2 separate regions of the Homo sapiens genome follow, and region 1 is linked to region 2. The links are contacts of gene promoters, found by promoter capture Hi-C in human tissues and cell types (Jung and others, 2019). All regions are on one chromosome and are shown on one strand. Each heading gives the region's core, a stretch centred on a gene start or on the middle of the fragment in contact. The rest is flanking DNA. Distances are from core to core; before and after follow the strand shown. Region 1 overlaps MLF1 (myeloid leukemia factor 1). Region 2 holds the start of PTX3 (pentraxin 3).

Region 1 (3,746 bases), core at 254-2,753, 1.1 Mb after region 2:
GTTTTGGCATCCTGTACCCTAAAAAACATCGATTATGTAGTATGAAAGTTTATAAATATTTAGTACGACCCAGAATTTTCTATTTGATACGAAACAGGAACTGTGAATCTTCTGAGCTACAAAAATGTAATTCTGATCGAGCAAGTCTACAAAGAATAATAACTATGTTACCACTTACCAGCTATTGGAGATAGAAAGCTCAGAAGCAGGCTGGCAAACCTGTCAACCTTAATTTTTTTTTTTTTTTTTTTGAGACGGAGTCTGGCACTGTTGCCCAGGCTGGAGTGCAGTGGTGTGATCTCGCCTCACTGCAACCTCTGCCTCCCAGGTTCAAGTGATTCTCCTGCCTCAGCCTCCTGAGTAGCTGGGATTACAGGCGCACACCACCACACCCGGCTGATTTTTTGTATTTTTAGTAGATACCGGGTTTCACTATGTTGGCCAAACTGGTCTCGAACTCCTGATCTCGTGATATGCTGGCCTCAGCCTCCTAAAGTGCTGGGATACAGGCATGAGCCACCGCACCCAGCCAACCTTAATTTTTAATCATAAATTATTGTTGTCTCTTCTTTAAGCCTCTCAGCTCTCCATATGAGCATCATATATCTGATGACCAGTATTTGGTTAAAGTACTGCATATATTCACAGGATGTTACTTCTTCTATCTCCTTATATGTATAATCTCTATTTTAAAAATTTTTACAAATTTGTATTTATTTTATACTTGGAAGTAGTTGGATTTATTAAAGGACATTGCTTTGTCCTATCCACTGATGGAGTTCAAAGTGAATGTATTCTATGTACAAGATGTGGGTTAACTTTTTTATTGATGGAAAACATTCTCATTGAAGGAAATAAAACCACCTTGTTAAGCTTTTGGAAACAGTATTCAAGGTTACTACTTAAATACTTGTTTAGACGTACAGTCTGAGGTAGAGTCTCTGCCAAATTGTCATAGCTTGGCTCTAGTTAATATTCTGCCACATATACCTCTCATTCTAAACAGTTGATAAAAGTAGCTTGAGAATACTCAGCTAAAATTTAAGTTACTTATTTTCAAGGTCCCACTTTATTCTAAGACCCTGAATACCTACTGTGAAATTACCTAGTATAATTGTTCTTAGGAATATTTTAATATATAAATTTCTTATAAATGAACTTTGCAAATTATAAGATCATATTTGAAAGAATGAGACACTGTAAGCCTTGTGCTGAAAGGATTTCTAAGGTATACTATTCATTTGGGGCATTCTTTGGTTCATGAGGTAAACACCACTGAATTAGGAGCCCAGGAACACAGCATGACTAGGACATGGTTGCTGGGTCAAAAATGCCATACAGTAGCATGTACCCACAAGATAATTCCTACTTCTGCCAATTAATATTGTAAATATCCATGAAAAAGGAGTGAACTATTTATAGAATATCAGGGGAGCATAATCATTTCCACAATTTTTTTGATATCAAAGGCTTTTGCCACACCAACACTTTGTACTTCAAGACAATGGAAAAATAGAATTGCTTAATAAAAATGTAATTCATTCTTTAAATATTTCTTCAGTTTCTACTATAGGCCGAACCCTGTGGGTTCTCTTTTAAATTTTTAGATGTCTTGGTTCCTGCCCTCAAGATCCTTCTTTGAATGTTACATGCATTATTTCTAGTATCAAAACATGGATCTTCTGGTCTATTTTCCTTATAGACCAGTCTACCTCATTGAAACTAGGGAACATTTCTTTATGATCAAGAGAACCATAACCATCTGCTGGCTAAGCTTTTGCCACTACCATGTATAATGGAAGGGAGGAATTTCCCTTAATGAGTGAGCCTGCCATGTCAGTTATCTGAGAACCTTATGTAATAGGTAATGCTCTTTGCTTAGAAGCACAAGTATCTATATTCTTATATAGATGAAAAAGAAGTGTAACTTAGGCAAAATAAGTGTGTGTGTGTGTGTGTGTGTACATATGTATTTGAGAGAGTTTTAAAAACAATAAATTATTCTAAAGGGAGACATTACCAGCCCTTAAACACATGTATGTACGTATGTACATACATACATACAAACACACACACACACACACACACACGTACACACTATGTTGAAATCATTCCCAAGTGACCTGGAATCAATCTAAGAGTTAAGACATAAACACTTTTGAAGGGGAAGTAGGCAACAATTTATTTTTCCTGCCTTGTGATATATGCTGAAGGTAAATAATATAGAATAGAAAAAGTACGTTTGAGACCAAAGTTTATTCAGTTTGGTTGTGGTTTGTGTGAGCAATTCTAAGAGAGGAGGTATATAGTCATCAGTGAGTAAAAGTACATTTTTCTTGACCTAAATGAAAATACATCCTCATGGAAAATCTGAAAAGTATAGAAAGTTTGGTAGCAGAAATAATACAACCCATTATTTTGATGTATTTTGTTTCAGATGTCCACATGTGGATTTTTATTTTCCAAAATTCGGACCACACTTTATGGTTAATTATTCAATGCTTTTCTGCAACATATACCATGAACGTTTTCCTGGTCTTTAGATATTCACTAAAGCATGACTTTAGAGTCTGCAAAATATTGCACCCTATGAACATACAAAGCATATTTCTCACATAAATCTTTAACAACATTTTCAAATTATTACCTTAGACTCTTTGTGTACATGAAATGACTAGTTTGTATAGCATGACCTTTTTAAAACCTCCTATTTCCAATTTGTTTTCCTAGAAGAATGAAATTTTATTTTCAAAAGAGAACATTATGAATGGGCTAAAATTTTTCATTTGAGAAAAAAAGCCTAGGTTAATTTTAAAAATATTAAAACAACTGTGTGCTACCATAGAATTTTTTTAGTTTTGATAAAAGTGAATTCAAACTTGGACAAGAGAAACATTAAAGCCTTATCTCCAAGCAGCTGCCTTTCTGGGTAGACATGAATTAAACTCACTAGAAGTTTCAGCCAGATTTCTTCCTGAATGGTTCAGACAGTTGCAAACACCAGACTATAGGCTCGCTTTTGTTTAGTGCATCTTCCAACAGGCAGTCATTTGTTCATGTCACTCAGAAAGATAAAATTTTTAGCATTTGCTGAACATACACATATTCAAATAAACATTTAAATATTCCCCTACTTCTATATAAAGAAAGAAAAACCCAGGCAAATTTTAAATGAGCCATATTTTGTTGATTAATTTTTAGCCCAATTATAATGCAATGAGAAAAATTAATTTTACTAAATTTTGATTCTGTAGAAAAGTAATAGCTGTTTAGCACTCCCTTATTCAAAGAACAAATTTAGTATTTCTTGAAATACTTTTCTTCATTGTAGTCAAATCACATCTACATATCTAAAGGAAAAGTTGACTGGTTTTCCTAAGTAAGTATATATTAATAGGAACAAGCATTTTAGTCTCCATACTTTAACCATACTCTAAGCTGTAAATGTCCAGTGAGTTTGGAGCTGTAAGCAAAAGGACCTCCTTTTGAAATGCCTGTTTTAAAACATCAAATGGTATGAAATCCTTTAACCTCATGCAGTTACATTTATTATGAAATATTTCAAACATACTGCAAAGGTATAACGAATACTTTGGAATAATCTGGTTTTTGAGGTAGGAGTTAGAAAATGTTCCATGGGTAACTCATTTGTGCATTTTAGAACTACTTGAAACTCTGTACCTTCAAATAAAAAGTAGAGTGGGGTGGAAGTAGGGAGAGCATTAGGAAAAATGGCTAATGCATAC
Region 2 (3,373 bases), core at 755-3,254:
TGTCCTTAAACTTATAACAAATATTTTTGAGCAAAGCAAAATTAATTAATTTCTTTTTCGTCCTCCTGAACAATGAAATGATTTTAGAATCCTATTACTGAACATAAAAGCAGCACATTTTAGATTATTTCCTTATATCTGTCTTCCAGTTCATTAATATTCTTTTCAGCTTTGCCTAATTTGCCACTTAATCCATGCCTTGAGCTTTTAAAATTTTCAATTAACTTTTTTTTTTAATTCTAGAAGTTTTATTTGGTTCTTTAAAAAAAATCACCTAGCCTTTTTCTTTTTGACAATGTCTTATTCTTTTCTCATATTTCCAATTCCTTCTTTTAGAGCTTCAGTAGTTTTAAACATATTTATTTTCTAGTTTTTTGGCTGATATTTCAACTAAATGCAGTTCTTGGGGAGAGGTGTCTAATCCTTTTTGGTTTCTGCTGATTCTCATTTATAGTGGTTTGCTTCCTCATATGTTCAAATATCATTGTGAATTCTTTTTTGTTTTCACAGTGGCAGATAGTATATATTTGAATTCTAAACATATCTGAGGGCAGGCCCAATTTCACAAACTCAAAGGGACCTTGTAGAGTTCAAAGAGAGACATGATTGCTTCCTACCTCTTTGTGCTAGGGCAGAGTGGGATTGTACCTACTGAAATACAGTAGGTAACCCTGTGAGGGTCCTGGCTTTCATGAGGATCTCCCTTCTAACTCTCCACCTTTGGCCTAAGCTTTGCTTCCACATGGTCATCAACATTTGGTGGTTATAGAACTAATAACCCCTATCTCACTTCACTCCTATGCCAGAGGGGCCCTAGCATCAGCTCATGGGATTGTTGTTTTTGCTTTCCTCTCTATCTTTGGCTCCGGGATTTTCCCCTTACTTTAATGGGAGCTCATCTGTACCTTTTAAGTTTTTATTAATATCATGTGAACACAGACCTGTATATATTGTTAGAAGCAGAAATCTCTAAGTTTACTTTTAAAACATGATCCTTGCCTCGAAACCTTGTAGAATAATATAATGTCCACATAATACCAAGTTATGAAAAGAAACATACCTAAATAACTAAATAAGTATATTCCTTTTTTCCCCCAGCTTTTTTTCCCCATTCTAGGTTTACCCAGTTGTACTGTGTTGTTTGTCATAGGCCGGGTGAGGTGGCTCACGTCTGTAATCCTAGCAATTTGGGAGGCGAAGGCGGGTGGATCGCCTGAGGTCAGGAGTTCGAGACCAGCCTGGCTAACATGGTGAAACCCTGTCTCTACTAAAAATACAAAAATTAACTGGGTGTGGTGGCGGGTGCCTGTAATTCCAGCTACTTGGGAAGCTGAGGTAGGAGAATCGCTTGAACCCAGGATGCGGAGGTTGCAGTGAGCCGAGATCACACCATTGCACTCCAGCCTGGGCAACAAGAGCGAAATTCAGTCTCAAAAAAAAAAATTATCTATAAAAGTATAGGTGCAACTCCTCAAGTATTAAAGACAAGATAGCTCGGATTGGACTTGACTTTCAGAGCCATAACTATTCTTAATATGTTGGTTTATCTTGGAATCAGACCATTTTCAGTTTCAACCTGTAAAACAGTGTACAAAGGAAACATGGAAAGTTTTCTATATATAAAGGGTTGTGAAATAATAACAGCTCACAGAAAATGCTGAAATGATGATTTGCTTCAGTACCCTCTGAAATTTCTCCCCTACCACCCCTCCTTCATCCCCATTGCTATCAATTCAAATTACAACAGCTAATTCTCAGGAGAACAGTAGAAGCCCAGTTTCTCTCCTCTTTCCCCTCTGACCCTCCTCCAATTAATCTGACTGCAGCGTAAACCTTTGCGGTTTAATATTGTGCAACTTCCACATTTCCCTCGCTCTCCCACCCAGCCCCCTCCCCCACCAAATTCAGGGGAACTCCCGTTACCGCAGTGCCACCAGCATTACTCATTCATCCCCATTCAGGCTTTCCTCAGCATTTATTAAGGACTCTCTGCTCCAGCCTCTCACTCTCACTCTCCTCCGCTCAAACTCAGCTCACTTGAGAGTCTCCTCCCGCCAGCTGTGGAAAGAACTTTGCGTCTCTCCAGCAATGCATCTCCTTGCGATTCTGTTTTGTGCTCTCTGGTCTGCAGTGTTGGCCGAGAACTCGGATGATTATGATCTCATGTATGTGAATTTGGACAACGAAATAGACAATGGACTCCATCCCACTGAGGACCGTAAGTTCACTTTAACTGTTTCTCTGCTAACCCTGACTACATATCCACCTCTTGGTCTAAATAACACACATATACTTTGTGGCCAGTGAGACAAGTTAAAAATTTATAGCTTGTTATGCAAAAGTGAGAAGCACTTGAAGAAAGATGGAGGTTTCAAAGTTATTTCTGTAACGTACATAATGGGTTGAATCATATCAAATCGTCAATATTTGACTGTTTTGAGCTACATAACCGGCGATTTCATAGGGTACAACTTAATCTATACCTGAATGAATGATTTCTGTCGTTTCTGAGACATTTACATGCTGTTTTTCGGAGGTGTCCTTAAAGGGAAGGGGAATGCCAGGAACGGGCTGCAACTTGGCACCACCGAGGGAGGTCAGCTTTTACAAAGCACATCCAAGGCAGGCCTGGGCGGGCTGCTAACGTGTGTGTATCCCGTACTCTAGCCACGCCGTGCGCCTGCGGTCAGGAGCACTCGGAATGGGACAAGCTCTTCATCATGCTGGAGAACTCGCAGATGAGAGAGCGCATGCTGCTGCAAGCCACGGACGACGTCCTGCGGGGCGAGCTGCAGAGGCTGCGGGAGGAGCTGGGCCGGCTCGCGGAAAGCCTGGCGAGGCCGTGCGCGCCGGGGGCTCCCGCAGAGGCCAGGCTGACCAGTGCTCTGGACGAGCTGCTGCAGGCGACCCGCGACGCGGGCCGCAGGCTGGCGCGTATGGAGGGCGCGGAGGCGCAGCGCCCAGAGGAGGCGGGGCGCGCCCTGGCCGCGGTGCTAGAGGAGCTGCGGCAGACGCGAGCCGACCTGCACGCGGTGCAGGGCTGGGCTGCCCGGAGCTGGCTGCCGGCAGGTAAGGAGGCAAGCGGGGCCGGGACCTCCCACTGCGGCTTTGTTCCGGGAGCGCGCGTAACGGCAAGCCAAGCCAGGCAACCTTCTAGGGGAAGCTTTCATGGGAAGCGCGCGCGCGCGCGCGCACACACACACACACACACACACACACACACACACCCCTATTTCTGCATGCGCGGTCACAGAGCTCAGGCACACCATACAAGGCGGGAAAATTGGCTTTAAAAAAGTATTCCTCAGTCCTAAGGAGCCCTAAAGAGAGTTGTGGAGGTAACCATCACAGTCTTGAAATAGACGTCTAGGGC

The links. Contacts are between HindIII fragments. The study calls those that stand out against the background at their distance.
Region 1: a contact is called between a fragment that was not itself captured here and the fragment with the promoter of PTX3 in region 2, in 1 of the 25 tissues and cell types used here (dorsolateral prefrontal cortex).

What each region holds. Positions count from the first base shown.
Region 1 is chr3:158,576,440-158,580,185 of GRCh38, forward strand. The region is part of intron 1 of MLF1 (myeloid leukemia factor 1); the gene reads left to right. Among named protein-coding and RNA genes, the nearest start is that of MLF1, 7.1 kb to the left of the region's middle. The HindIII fragment of the contact is 3,302 bases long and covers 1-3,154 here.
Region 2 is chr3:157,434,846-157,438,218 of GRCh38, forward strand. PTX3 (pentraxin 3) reads left to right here and starts at 2,005. Exons shown (of 3, transcript NM_002852.4): 1 at 2,005-2,218; 2 at 2,668-3,069. The coding sequence starts at 2,089. The region is part of intron 4 of VEPH1 (ventricular zone expressed PH domain containing 1); the gene reads right to left. The HindIII fragment of the contact is 4,814 bases long and covers 55-3,373 here.